Linked DNA regions of Homo sapiens: regions 2, 3, 4 and 5 are each linked to region 1. The links are contacts of gene promoters, found by promoter capture Hi-C in blood cells and fetal thymus (Javierre and others, 2016). All regions are on one chromosome and are shown on one strand. The core of a region is centred on a gene start or on the middle of the fragment in contact, and the rest is flanking DNA. Distances in the headings are between cores, read along the strand shown.

Region 1 (2,677 bases), core at 127-2,626:
CACTTTGGGAGGCCAAAGTGGGCTGACTGCTTTGAGCTCAGGGGTTTGAGACCAGCCTATGCAACAACGTGAAAACCCATCTCTACAAAACAAACAAACCAAACAAAACAAACAAGCAAACAAACAAAATTAGCTGGGTGTAGTGGCACACACTTGTAATCCCAGCTACTCAGGAGGCTGAGGCCGGAGAATCACTTGAAACCAGGAGGAGGATGCAGTGAGCCGAGATGGCGCCACTGCACTCCAGCCTGGGTGACAGAGCGAGACCCTGTCTGGAAAAAAAAAAAAAAAAAAAAAAGGACATTCAGTGGTGGTGTGGTGCTGACCTATAGCTATTAACATGAGATAAGCACTTTAAACAGAGTTGGTCAACTACTGGCAGCCTTGGTGTCATGGAAAGAACTTGGACTTTGGAACCACAGAAACTCAGGCAAGGCTCGGTAATGTTTCTCTTTTTAAATTGAGACAAGGTCTCTCTATGTTGCCTAGGCTGGGTCTCCAACTCCTGGGCTCAAGCCATCCTCTGGCCTTGGCCTCCCAAAAGTGCTAGGATCGCAGGTGTGAGTCACCATGCCCAGGCTCCAGTAATATTTCAGAACTTCCTCAAAACTGTTTCCTCCTTTGCTACTGCATTCTTCACTGAGATGAGGGTTAAGACCTACCTAACAGTAGTAATCTACATCTCAATGTAGGACTTCTGAATTCTGACTTGAGGAAAGCACCTGCTTTCCTGGTTGAGTAATTATAAACAGAGATTCTAGGTTTGCATGTTTGCAGTTTTAAACTCGAAAAGTGCATTTATCTCAAAAACACAGAATTATCAAGGATTTTAATTACTGATTTATTTGTAATGTAAAAATGGGAAACAAACGGCCTCCAGTAGGAAATTAATTTAATCCGCATAGCCATGCAATGGAATACTTCACGGCATTAAGATTGTGCTTTTGAAGACTATTTAGTGAGAAGAAAAATGTTCATCATAAAACAGTAAAAAGAAGGGCAGTAAACAAAACACCATACAATATACCCCACTGTAGAAAAACAAAATACATACAGAAATGTAATAGCCAAAGAAGGACCCAAAGCGAACGCTTCCCCCTGGGAACTAGGAGGGGTGGAGAGAAATTACTTTCTTCCCTGCATTTCTGTGTCTTTTCTAGCTTCCTATCAGTATCATGTATTGCCTTTAAATCCGAAAATACCCCTGTGTTATTAGTGAGGCGTCGTCGGGGCTCTGAGAGGCGCGCGCGCCCGGGACAGACCCCTGCGCCCCCTGGCGGCGCCCTGAGGCCCCGCCCCACGAGGCCGGCGCGACGGGGCGGGGCGCGGAGCCCCAGCCGAGCCTAGCCCTGCCCGGCCCCGGAGGACTTGCAACACTCCGAGGCCAGGAACGCTCCGTCTGGAACGGCGCAGGCAAGCCAGGGGGCCGGGGCCGGCGCCGTTGGGGACTGTGGGCGGTGGGGACTGGTCCAGGGCTGGGGCGGCCATGCGCCGGGGCGCCTAAACTTTTCGGAGCGCGCTCCCGGCTTGCCCGCTCCTGGGCCCAAGGAGCCCGTTCCAGATGGGGATCTCCCCTCCTGGCCCTTGGCGTTTCGCTCTCCCTGGGCGCGCGGGTGGGCGGCCGGGTCTGTGGCACCTGGTTAGCCTTGGGAGCCCAGCAGCGTGTTGTGGGCACTGGTGAGCGGAGCCAGGGTCTGGGGGTGTCCTCGTGTTCCCTCTTTCGGGCACGAGTGGCCTCTCTGTCGCAGGGCCTATCCACCATGCCAGCCCGAGTGGCCAGCTGTGTGGGATGAGGGCTTTCATGGCCCTCAGCTGGTGAGAAGAGGGAAGAGGGAGGGGAGACAGCCAGGGCCTGGCACGGACCCCAGGTTGCCCCCACACGCGCTGAGGCCAGTCTCGGTGTAGACAGGTGAATATTTAAGGGGTGGGGAAGGGGGGGTCCTAGCTTGCAGCTGGGGCAGAAGCCAATGAGCAGCTCAAGTGTTTGGCATGGGGAAGTGGCCACCTCTATCACCATGACTTTGCCCTCTGCCAGTCCCACTTCCAGCCACTGTTTCCCGGCTGGGTTCACAGAACTACAGGGGAGTAACATCCTCCTCGTGACTTCTTTGGGTTAGAGTGAAAACAAAACAGAGAAACGGGAAAAGGGAAAGCAAGTGGAGAGACTGGGGCAGGAGCCAGGGACCAGTGGGAGGAAGCAGAGGGAGGCTGCTGGGAGGCCAGGCCCTGGCCTTGTGGGGTCGGCACCAATTCTTGTCCTATGGGGTCTCCATCTCCTCTCCCTCCTCTGTGGCCTCTACGTGGTACCCAGGAGTTTGGGGTTCTACCTGAGCACCCTGGACATGGGATAAGTAGGCCTGGGAACGCAGGTCAGAGCCAGATGTCATGGAAGGGCCCTCAGGTGTCCAGTTCTCTGGGCTCTGAAATATTCATCTCATTAGTGAGCTTTGGTTTCCAAGCTGGCGACTTTGGGCTGGCCAGTGGTGGCAGGGGAGCCAGGTGCCTCCTGGGGCTGCTTTATTGGCGCAAAGGGGGAGCCATACTTCCTTCTCACCTGCCTCCTCTCTCTGTCTCTCCAGTCATGAGGATCCAGAGAACCAGTTTATAGCTTAAATGGAAGAGGCAGGACCACAGTGTCAGGGGCCCTGTCTTTCTGTGCTATGACCTCAAGGCCTCA
Region 2 (2,677 bases), core at 68-2,567, 380 kb before region 1:
GTCCGCTGTGTGGTCGTATGGTCGCTCCTCCACCAGCTCTGGAGACATATAGAGTGGTGTGCCTTTGATGGATGTCAGCACCATTGTATTGGTGCTCATAGCCCGGGCAAATCTGCAGAAGATAATGGGATGGAAATGGAAAGGGAAAAGATATTCTAAACCTGGTCACTACTACCTAACATAGAGATATCCCAAACCGGAGCAGAGGGAGCACCTTTGATTAGGTTCCAGAAGACCCAGCAGCAGTCCCAGCCTCTAGCTCCGGTTCTAAAATGAGGCCCAAATAAGTCAAGAGTATGGTCTAAGATTCCCTGTGGGGCCAGGCTCAGTGGCTCATGCCTGTAATCCCAGCACTTTGGGAGGCCGAGGTGGGCAGATCACCTGAGGTCAGGAGTTCGAGACCAGCCTGACCAACATGGAGAAACCCCATCTCTACTAAAAATATAAAATTAGCCAGGCATGGTGGCACATGCCTGTAATCCCAGCTACTCTGGAGGCTGAGGCAGTAGAATTGCTTGAATCCGGGAGGCAGAGGTTGTGGTGAGTGGAGATCGCACCATTGCACTTCAGCCTGGGTAACAAGAGTGAAACTCCATCTCAAAAAAAAAAAAAAAAAAAAAGATTCCGTGTGGAACTGGAAGCTTAGATGGATGCTCAGAATCTTTACCCAAAGTCACAGAGCTTGATGCCACCACCCTTGGCGAGGAGGATGTTCTGAGGCTTCATATCTCGGTGTAGGATGCGGTGGGAATGCAGATAGTACAGGGCTGACACCAACTGGGCAGCAATGGCCTGAACCTAGAAATTAAAGAGGTGGAAGAAAGAAAAAAAAGGTTAGAAACAGCAGCTGGCTGACAAGCCCAAAAATTTCTCTTAATATTACTGCTAATCTTTTCTTCCTTCCCTTTCTTGCAGAGCTTCACACTATTCTTTCTTAGTTATTGTTCCCCTTGTTTAATCACTCTTTCATTTGCTCATTCATTCATTCAAGAAAAATTTATTGAATCTCATTTACTATCTGCTTGACCATGGGCAAACTAAGGTGACAATCTATATAATAACACCATCTACATGGAGGATTATTGTGAGGACTGAGTTAAAGCATGCAAAATAATACTCAGAATGGTGCCTGGCACATAGTAAATATTCAATACACATTACCTGTTATTAAATAAGACAAAATGCCTTTTTTCAAGAAAAGTAGTCAGACAAACAAACAAGACAGATAAAACAAATATGGTGGTCGGGCGTGGTGGCTCACACCTGTAATACCAGCACTTTGGGAGGCTGAGGCGGGCAGATCACCTGAGGCCAGCAGTTCGAGACCAGCCTGGCCAGCATGGTGAAACCCCATCTCTACTAAAAGTACAAAATTAGCTAGGCATGGTGGCGCATGCTATAATCCTGGTTACTGGGGAGGCTGAGGCACGAGAATTGCTTGAACCTGGAAGGCGGAGTTTGCTGTGAGCCAAGATTGTGCCACTGCACTCCAGCCTGGGCAACAAAGCGAGACTCTGTCTCAAAAAATAAAATTCAATTAAAAATAAAATAATTTCAAAAATATGATTACTTACAAATAGTGGTGAGTGCTCAGAAGGAAAGAGAATGCTGCAATAATGAATCCCAGGGGGGGCCTACTTGCTTGGGTACAGACAAACGCCTAGAATAAATGTGGCTGGAGGATATGTGCAACAAAATCCCACTGCTAACCACTACGTCCTGGTGCCAAATCCTGACTCCCCACAACCTTTATTCTTACTGCCCTCTTTCTGGTACCATTACACTGGCCCTTCTTCCCTAAAGGTATCTAATAACAATAATGTTAATAATAGCTAACTATTCAAACACATTACATGACTTAACACTCTTCATCATAGACTTATCAGGCAAACATGATTATTATCTCCATTTTACAAATTAGGAAACTAAGCACAAAGAAATTAAAGTAACTTGTCCAATGAGACCCAGCTAGGAAGGAGCAGAGCCAAGCTTCCTGCTCAGATATTTTGACTCCAACGTTTACATAATTTACTCCCACACTACACTGCCTCTATATACCTAGACTCTTATATTCTTCTCAGAAGTCTTTGAAATGGAGACTCTCAGTGTCCTTAGCTTGCTCTACCAGTTCTCTAACCTGGAGAGAGGTCGGAGGTGGGGAGAAGTTGAAGGCAGAAAGCATACCTGGTCTTCAGGAAGTTTTCCGTCATCTTCTAGGATCTGAAAGAGCTCTCCCTCAGCATAGTCTGTCACCACCACCACCTACAGAGAGAAGGCAGTGGCACTGATGGCTCCAGATTCATGCATTCTGAGGTTGGGAAATTCCTGGAACCCTTGTGCTTGGGGAGACAGGGCCCAAAACTGTCAAAGCACACCTCTTTATCAGTTTCAAAGCTGTCAAGCATATGCACAATGTTGGGATGCCGCAGACCCCGCATTATTTCAATCTCTCGTTGCAAATTCCTCAGCTCCTTCTCTGAGCGCCCCAATTTTGGGATGAACTTCAGGGCCACGACCTGTCAGTGGTAAGGTGAAAAGTTAACGCCTAATCACACTACTGAAAAGATCTAGAATTTCAGCCTTAATCTCAGAGCTCCAGAAGTCAGATTTTAGAGTGTTTGAGTAACTCTTATTATTTCTGTTAGTCTCCCGCTTCCATTTTCTCCATGGTACCCTG
Region 3 (2,677 bases), core at 88-2,587, 350 kb before region 1:
GTAGAGATGGGGGTTTCACCGTGTTAGCCAGAATGGTCTCAATCTCCTGACCTCATGATCCGCCCGCCTCGGCCTCCCAAAGTGCTGGGATTACAGGCATGAGCCACCATGCTCGGCCCCTCCTAAGTATTTCTTTTACTTTTTTTTTTTTTTTTTTTCAGTGACAGGGTCTTGCTCTGCTGCCCATGCTGGAGTGCAGTGGTGCAGTCATAGCTCACTACAATCTCAAACTCCTGGGTGCACATCATCTTCTTGCCTTAGCCTCCCAATTAGCTGGGTCTACAAGTGCACGCCACCACGCCCACCTAATTTTTTTGTAGACAGGGTCTCACTTTGTTGCCCAGGCTGGGTCTTTGACTTTTTGAGTTGAACAAGCCGTTGTGTTTAAATGAATTGTCGAATTCCATGAGTACTCTGTGACCAAAAGAGGGTTATAATTTCCCATGGGGAAACCCTTCCATATTTGAGTATTCATTACTGTCAGGTAGCTAGTTGGTTAGAGGTCCCGTTAATCATCAGCATCCATTGGGCACCCACAACATTGATTGCTGGGACTACAACATTGAGTTCTTGTTGATGTACAAGGACGCTGTGTTGGAAAGGCACAGAAATGTCAGACAGGGCCAGGCGCGGTGGCTCATGCCTGTAATCCCAGCACTTTGGGAGGCCAAGGAGGGCACATCACTGGAGGTCCAGAGTTCAAGACCAGCCTGGCCAACATGGTGAAACCCTGTCTTCACTAAAAATACAAAATTAGCCAGGTGTGGTGGCCCATGCCTGTTATTCCAGCTACTTGGGAAACTGAGGCAGGAGGATCACTTGAACCTGGGAGGCGGAGGTTGTAGTGAGCCGAGATTGCACCATTGCACTCCAGCCTGGGCAACAAGAGCGAAACTCCGTCTCAAAGAAAAATAAAAGAAAAAAGAAATGTCAGACAGGACTGGAGGACTGGAGCATTCCAAAGAGATGGTCATTAGTCAACTTGCTGCTTGCATTCTTTATATCCACTGATTGCAGTAACTCCATGGCCCAGTAAACCTTGCTCCACCGCCTTTCAATGGTGATTTGTTCCCTGTCCTGTAGGACTGAAGCCATACCAGTGTCCCGAGTGTGAGTACTGCACCAACCGGGCTGATGCACTGCGTGTGCACCAGGAGACCCGGCATCGAGAAGCACGGGCTTTCATGTGTGAGCAGTGTGGCAAGGCCTTCAAGACGCGCTTCCTGCTGCGCACCCACCTTCGCAAGCACAGTGAGGCCAAACCCTATGTGTGCAATGTGTGCCACCGTGCTTTCCGCTGGGCTGCTGGCCTGCGCCATCATGCCCTCACCCACACCGACCGCCACCCCTTCTTTTGCCGCCTCTGCAACTACAAGGCCAAGCAAAAGTTCCAGGTGGTCAAGCACGTACGCAGGCACCACCCTGACCAAGCCGACCCAAACCAGGGTGTGGGCAAAGACCCCACCACCCCCACAGTGCACCTGCATGATGTGCAGCTGGAGGATCCCAGCCCTCCTGCTCCTGCCGCTCCCCACACTGGACCTGAGGGCTGAAAGCCTGCCCCACCTCCTGTATAGGAAGAGGGTATGGTCTGAGATGTGCAGACTGGGACCAGCGCTAGCCTGAGGAGCTCAGAGCCTAAGGAAAGACTGGCTTTTGGGGTACAAGGGTGACTAGAACCTTCCTGGGACTCTGGCTATAGTACTTTGAAATTATCACCCATATAAAAGAGGGACATGGACTATAACGTTGATTTCTTATTGCTGTACATTGCGTTTTTAACCTGCAAGTTCTCAGTTTCTTCACCATCACTCCATCAAAGTCCCTGGCTATAAGATCTGGATTTTACCCACTCCATCTTCTCTTTCCTTCTTACTGTGTCAATTCCTATTTTCTTTCAGAATCTTCTAAAAACAGTTGTATCTAACCGCATGTGCTGTTGTGCCTAATGCTCTATAAAGCATGTTAAACAGAAAGTGGTTACTACATTATAGATTCATCCAAATCCCTGTCTTAACATTTCCAGGCTGTCATCTTGATCAACTCTGTCCCCTCTCAGACCTCTGCCTCCCTTTTGTCCCTTCCATCTTCACTCAGTATTGATACTGAAACAGGCCTAGGTCTGCCTTCTCCCTGTCCTTGAGCCATCTTGACCCTTGACCTGCTCCCTACTTCCAAGCTCCTTTGTCTACCTGTATCTATAGAGGGAGGATTGCTACCCACTAAGCCTCCTCCTAGAAGCAACTTTAGCTCATCATCAATCCTCAGACTGGCTCAGCAGCTACACTAAGGTGTTAAAGCACAAGGATACTATGGAAAGGCAGATGACTAGAGAGGAAAATCTCCAATTCAGAATTCTATAACTGCTTCACAGTATAATTCTGTAGTGCCTTACTATATAATTGATCATCTAAACTGAGACACACTGGGAAAACTTAAAGAGGGTACTATTAATAATTATGCTGGGACAACAGACATAAACCAGGATGGTTCCAGCCAGACTCTTCAGGAAGGCTGGGACCACATAACCTTTTGTCTGCTTTTGCCCTGATTCTTAAAAGCCATACTCTGTGTCCTTCCTATGTAGCACATGCAAGAGGTCTCCTGGGAACCTCTTTCTCTACCTTTTCCTTGTCTCACCTGACTACCCAGATGTCCCCACAACCCTTGTACCTCC
Region 4 (2,677 bases), core at 103-2,602, 320 kb before region 1:
CTTGCTTCTGAGAAGGATTATGCCTAACCTGGTTCATATAGAGGACAAATTGGCTCTGGTCACAGGTCACAGAATGTTGGAGCTTGAAGGTTCTTTTTTTTTTTTTTTTTGAGACAGAGTCTCGCTGTCGCCCAGGCTGGAGTGCAGTGGTGCGATCTTGGCTCACTGCAGGCTCCGCCCCCCGGGGTTCACGCTATTCTCCTGCCTCAGCCTCCCGAGTAGCTGGGACTACAGGCACCCGCCACCCACCTCGCCCGGCTAATTTTTTGTATTTTCAGTAGAGACGGGGTTTCACCATGTTAGCCAGGATGGTCTCAATCTCCTGACCTCGTGATCCACCCGCCTCGGCCTCCCAAAGTGCTGGGATTACAGGTGTGAGCCACCGCGCCCGGCCAGTTCTTTTATAACACATCTAATCCAGACATTCCCAGCTACATCAATAGCCTCTGGAATGTCTTGAAATTGAGATCCTTAGCCCTACCCAAAAATCTACCAGATCAGAGTTACCCAGGGTGGGGCTCAATAATATATTTATTTTTAACAAGTACACTTGGTACACAGGCAAGTCTGGGAAACCCTAAACTCTCTCGTATCACAGATCTGGAAGTTGTGGCTCCAGGTCCCGTAGCTAGTTAATGGCACAGGCAGAACTAGAAGTAGGTTTTCTTACCAACGTAGCACTCTGGTGCACTAAGAAACTGCTCTGGCCCATGGAATAGGCAAAGAACAAGTTCTTTAGAGAACTTTCTAAGGGACTTTCATAACTCTCTCTATTACCAGGGATCTCTGATTCCCCATGGTTCTTGGCCAACCCCTATTTTGCAACCCTCAACAAACTGTTAATGAATCTATGCTAAAGCTTAGCTACTCCAATTTTTTCTTCCCTTATTGGGGGTGGAGTTCACCTCAGGAGTGGCTAGGGTTGGCACTTCTGGCCCTGCATAAGCTAAGAGGTACCTCATATAAAGGGCGACTGACACAGCCAGGAGGAAAGCTGTAAGGATAAAGGAGGATAAGCTAGAGAGAACCAGGAGGTGGGAGCCCTGTAGAGCTGTTGGGATGAGGAAAGGAGTCTAGGGTACAATTTAATCAGGGTGGATAAGCATCTAGAGGGCAGAGGTAGGGACTCAGGGAAGACAGAGCTTAGAGCAGAGGGTAGTCAGAGCTTCCAGATCCTTACCGTGGGCAGGAGAGCAGAATAGCAGTCCTGTGTTTCCTGTGTCTGTGAGCTGTGCCTCCCGAGCTCTGCGATGCTGTGGGATCAGGAAGCCCAGCCTGGCTCCTTTTCTCTTTTGCTCCCCTTGCACTGGCTTGTTTCCTCCCCTCTTCTACAGCAGCTGGCTGCTGTGACTGGCAAGTTATAGCCGGAGGGAAGCAGTAAGAAGGGGAGAGGTGTGAGCTCTCTCCAGTCCAGCCCATCCAACTCTTAAAGGCCCAGGACACTGGTCAATGTGAGGGAGTAGTGGGGGTGGGGTGGGGAGAGAAGGATTAAGGGCAGCACATCTCCAGGGAGGAGCCTGGCTGCCCTTCATCTTGATGCCAGCCCTCATTGACCCCAATCCCGCAGTAGCTCTCAAAGTGAAGGGAGTGTCCTCAGTTGCAGTGCTCTGTGAATCACTGCTTTTCATTCTGGTTCCTGCATGTAATACGGCTGTTTTTGCCCTTATTTAATCTGGCTCCTTTCCATAGTGTCTGTTTCCACTGGCCTGCTCCTGTATCTCTGAATCCTGCCTGCAGGGCACTCACTGTAGCTCCGTCCCACAGGAAAAGAAAGAAATAAGATGGGAAAAGAGGAAGACGAGGAGAAGGGGAGGACAGGAATGATGATAGAATGTAGAGGGACAGATAGGTTAGAATCTATGTATATTTTAGGCACTCATTAAATATTGAAAGAATGCATAGATGAACGTGTGAAACAGCTCATTTTTTTTTAAACATCCATTCGTTCCTCCTACAAGCATCTGTTCAGCACCTCTGGGTTATAAGTCATAGCCCTCAGAATGGAGGTAGCACCTTCAGGACATACATGCATGTTTATAAAGATGTGTGCAGAGATGAAGCATAGGCTCAGAGGGGAACTGTGTGAAATGGTGTAATTTTAAGTGTGCTGACGTCTGGCTGCCTATCATGGTTTCCACAAGCATCCCTCAACTGCCTAATATTTTACCATTAGTGATTATAGCTACATTTTTTAGTCCCATTAAAATAAAATCCTCCTAAGTGATTACTATAAAAGTCAGGATAGTGGTTACTGTTGGGAGGGGGAGGAATTGTGGTGAGATGGGACACAGAGGGGGCTTCTGGCATAGCTAGCTAAACTCTATTTCTAGTTCTAAGTGCTAACAAGGGTCTTCACTTAATAATTTATTAAGCTATACATTCTCTTGATATATTTTCTATATGTGTTTTTAAATTTATTTTTTTAGGTCTCATTTAAAATATCATATATCTGTGTTAACTTTTGAAGGCTTAATGATTTTAAATATACATATATGTATATGTATATGTGTGTGTGTGTATATATATATATATATATATTTTTTTTTTTTTTTTTTTTTTTTTTTGAGATAAGAGTCTCGCTGTTGCCCAGGCTGGAGTGCAATGGCGTGATCTTGGCTTACTGCAACCTCTACCTCCCGGGTTCAAGCAATTCTCCTGTCTCAGCCTCCTGAGTAGC
Region 5 (2,677 bases), core at 127-2,626, 300 kb before region 1:
CAGAGTACCTACTATGTGCCCGGTATAACTGTTAATCAATAATGCACCAGGTTAAGGTCCCAAGTGACAAAGTTACTATGGCACAGCTGAGATCCAAGCCTCATTTGAATATCTAAGGCTCTTCTCTTTTCCATAGGCCAAGATGATTTATTCAGCTATGCCTCCTCTCTTCCAGATGAAGTAAGGCCTTTCTTTCTTTTTTCTTTTCTTTTTTTTTTTTTAGATGGAGTCTCACTCTGTCGCCCAGACTGGAGTGCAGTGGCTCCATTTCAGCTCACTGCAACCTCTGCCACCCTGGTTCAACTGATTCTCCTGCCTCAGCCTCCCGAGTAGCTAGGATTACAGGCTCCTGCCACCATGCCTGGCTAATTTTGGTATTTTTAGTAGAGACGGGGTTTCACCGTCTTGGCTAGGCTGGGCTTGAATTCCCTGACCTCGTGATCCACCTGCCTTGGCCTACCAAAGTGCTGGGATTACAAGCGTGAGCCACTGCACTCGGCTGAGATAAGGCCTTTTTTGTTCTTAAAAGATCTTGAAGAAATAAGATTTTCACGCTTCTCTTTGAAGATTATCTAACAGTAATAAAACATATCCTGGCTGTGAAGCTTATATGTGGCCTCAATTTTTCCCTCAACTTGAGCTCATTAGCTCTTACATAAAAGAGATATTAAAATATTAGTTTAATTTAAATTAGACAATCACGATAATGATACTCTTTCTTGGCTGCTCATCAAAATGAACTGTGGAATTATTTTACTATTTTATTGGGGTTATAACACTGTAGTAGGCTGAATAATGGCTCTCAAAGATATCCAGGCCCTAATCACCAAACTCTGCAAATGTTACCTTAAATGAAAAATGGGACTTTGCAGACGTGATTAAGTTAAGGATCTTGAGATGGGGGATTATCCCTGTTTATCCAAGTAGGCCTTAAATGTAATAACGAAGTGTCCTTAAAAGCGATGTAGAGAAGGCCAGGCAAAGTGACCCATGCTGGTAATCTCAGCACTCTGGGAGGCCAAGGTGGGAGGACTGCTTGAGGCCAGGAGTTCAAGGATGCAGTGAGTTATGATCATGCCACTGCACTCCAGCCTGGGCGACAGAGAAAACCCCATCTCTTAAAACAAACAAACAAACAAAACAACAACAACAACAACAACAACAAGAGAGATGTAGGGAGAGATTTTACCACAAAGGAGAAAGCAATGTGACAAGCAGAAAGAGATTTGAACATGCCACATCGCTGGATCTGAAGAGGGAGGGGGCCATAATCCAGGGAATGCAAGAAATGCAGTTCTAGAAGCTAGAAAAGGCAACAAAAAGACTCTCCTCTATATCCTCCAGAGAAAGCATGACCCTCCTGATACATTGACTTTAGATTGGTGAAACTCATTTAGAACTTGTGACTTCCAAAACTATAAAACAGTAAACTTCCATTGTTTTAAGCCACTACCCTTCTAGCTTGTGGTAATTTGTTATAGCAGCAGGTTATATAGGAACCTAATATAAACTTACACACAGTGAAGTGTGTTAAGTGCACTAATCTTAAGTGTACCTTGAATTTTTACCTATGTACACATTATGTACTATAACCAGATTAAAATACAAAATATTGTATAAAATACAGAATATTTGGGAGGTGGAGGCAGGCAGATTGCCTGAGCTTAGGAGTTCAAGACTAGCATGGGCTACATGGCGAAACTCCATCTCTACTAAAAATACAAAAAATTAGCTGGGTATGATGGTGTGTGCCTGTAGTTCCAACTACTCAGGAGGCTGAGGCATGAGAATTGCTTGAACCCAGGAGGCAGAGGTTGCAATGAGCCGAGATCACTCCACTTCACTCCAGCCTGGGTGACAGAGTGAGACTGTCTCAAAAACAAAAAACAACAACAACAAAAAAAAAAACAGAAAAAAGCAATATTTCTACCAACTCAGGATTCCAGCATTCCCTTGTACCTTTCCCCAGTCAATGTTCTTTCCTCAGAGCTAACCACGAATCCAACTTATTGCCAGTAATTGGCTTTGCTTGTTCTTAAACTTCACATAATCAACATACAGTATGAATTCCCATGTGTCTGGCTTCTTTTGCTCAACAATGCCTTTGACAGTCATCCATATATTGAATATTTAAAATAAAAAGCTTAAAAATAGCCAGGTATAGGGATGTGTGCCAGTATCAAAGCTACCTACTCCAGAGAGGGAAGTGGGAAGACTGCTTGAGCCCCGGAGTTCAAGGCTATAGTGTGCCATTATCATGGCTGTGAATAGCCACTGCATTCCAGCCTGGGCAACATAGTGAAACCTTGTCTCTTTAAAAACAATAAATTGGTCAGGCACAGTGGCTCATGCTTGTACTCCTAGTACTACGGCAGAAGGCAGGAAGATCCTTTGAGCCCAGGAGTTCAAGAGTAGCCCAGGCAACATAGGGAGACCTTGTCTTTACAAAAAATAAAAATAATTAGCTGAGTGTGGTGGAGCAGGCATGTGGTCCCAGCTACTTGTGAAGCTGAGGTGGGAGGATCAACTGAACCTAGGAGGTCGAGGCGGCAGTGAGCCATGCCTCTCTACTCCAGCCTGGGTGACAGACAGAGATCCTGTCTCTAAATAAATAAATAATTTAATTAAAAATTAAAAAACCAGTGCTCACTTAGACAGCACATGTACTAAAATTGGA

What was found. The method cuts DNA at HindIII sites, captures the fragments that hold promoters and counts their contacts. A CHiCAGO score of 5 or more calls a contact.
Region 2: a contact is called between a fragment that was not itself captured here and the fragment with the promoter of TMBIM1 in region 1, in 7 of 17 cell types (naive B cells, activated CD4 T cells, total B cells and 4 more). The highest score is 7.9, in naive B cells.
Region 3: a contact is called between a fragment that was not itself captured here and the fragment with the promoter of TMBIM1 in region 1, in 1 of 17 cell types (naive CD8 T cells). The highest score is 6.7, in naive CD8 T cells.
Region 4: the fragment with the promoter of PLCD4 here is called in contact with the fragment with the promoter of TMBIM1 in region 1 in 1 of 17 cell types (activated CD4 T cells); the score reaches 5.7 in activated CD4 T cells.
Region 5: a fragment that was not itself captured here is called in contact with the fragment with the promoter of TMBIM1 in region 1 in 1 of 17 cell types (total B cells); the score reaches 5.6 in total B cells.

The regions. Positions count from the first base shown.
Region 1 is chr2:218,291,202-218,293,878 of GRCh38, reverse strand. TMBIM1 (transmembrane BAX inhibitor motif containing 1) reads left to right here and starts at 1,376. Exons shown (of 12, transcript NM_022152.6): 1 at 1,376-1,413. All of the region lies in intron 2 of PNKD (PNKD metallo-beta-lactamase domain containing), which reads right to left. RefSeq lists enhancers at 1-698, 881-1,843, 1,844-2,677 and a silencer at 1,119-1,598. The HindIII fragment of the contact is 24,107 bases long and covers 1-2,677 here.
Region 2 is chr2:218,673,464-218,676,140 of GRCh38, reverse strand. It overlaps STK36 (serine/threonine kinase 36), which reads right to left. Exons shown (of 27, transcript NM_015690.5): 3 at 2,376-2,516; 4 at 2,185-2,262; 5 at 668-798; 6 at 1-112. Among named protein-coding and RNA genes, the nearest start is that of STK36, 2.7 kb to the right of the region's middle. The HindIII fragment of the contact is 1,348 bases long and covers 644-1,991 here.
Region 3 is chr2:218,637,215-218,639,891 of GRCh38, reverse strand. It overlaps ZNF142 (zinc finger protein 142), which reads left to right. Exons shown (of 11, transcript NM_001379659.1): 11 at 1,084-2,677. The coding sequence ends at 1,553. Among named protein-coding and RNA genes, the nearest start is that of ZNF142, 21 kb to the left of the region's middle. The HindIII fragment of the contact is 3,761 bases long and covers 1-2,677 here.
Region 4 is chr2:218,606,574-218,609,250 of GRCh38, reverse strand. PLCD4 (phospholipase C delta 4) reads right to left here and starts at 1,352. Exons shown (of 16, transcript NM_032726.4): 1 at 1,181-1,352. The HindIII fragment of the contact is 12,670 bases long and covers 862-2,677 here.
Region 5 is chr2:218,589,286-218,591,962 of GRCh38, reverse strand. The region is part of intron 5 of CNOT9 (CCR4-NOT transcription complex subunit 9); the gene reads right to left. It also overlaps the pseudogene RNU6-136P. Among named protein-coding and RNA genes, the nearest start is that of PLCD4, 17 kb to the left of the region's middle. The HindIII fragment of the contact is 1,538 bases long and covers 608-2,145 here.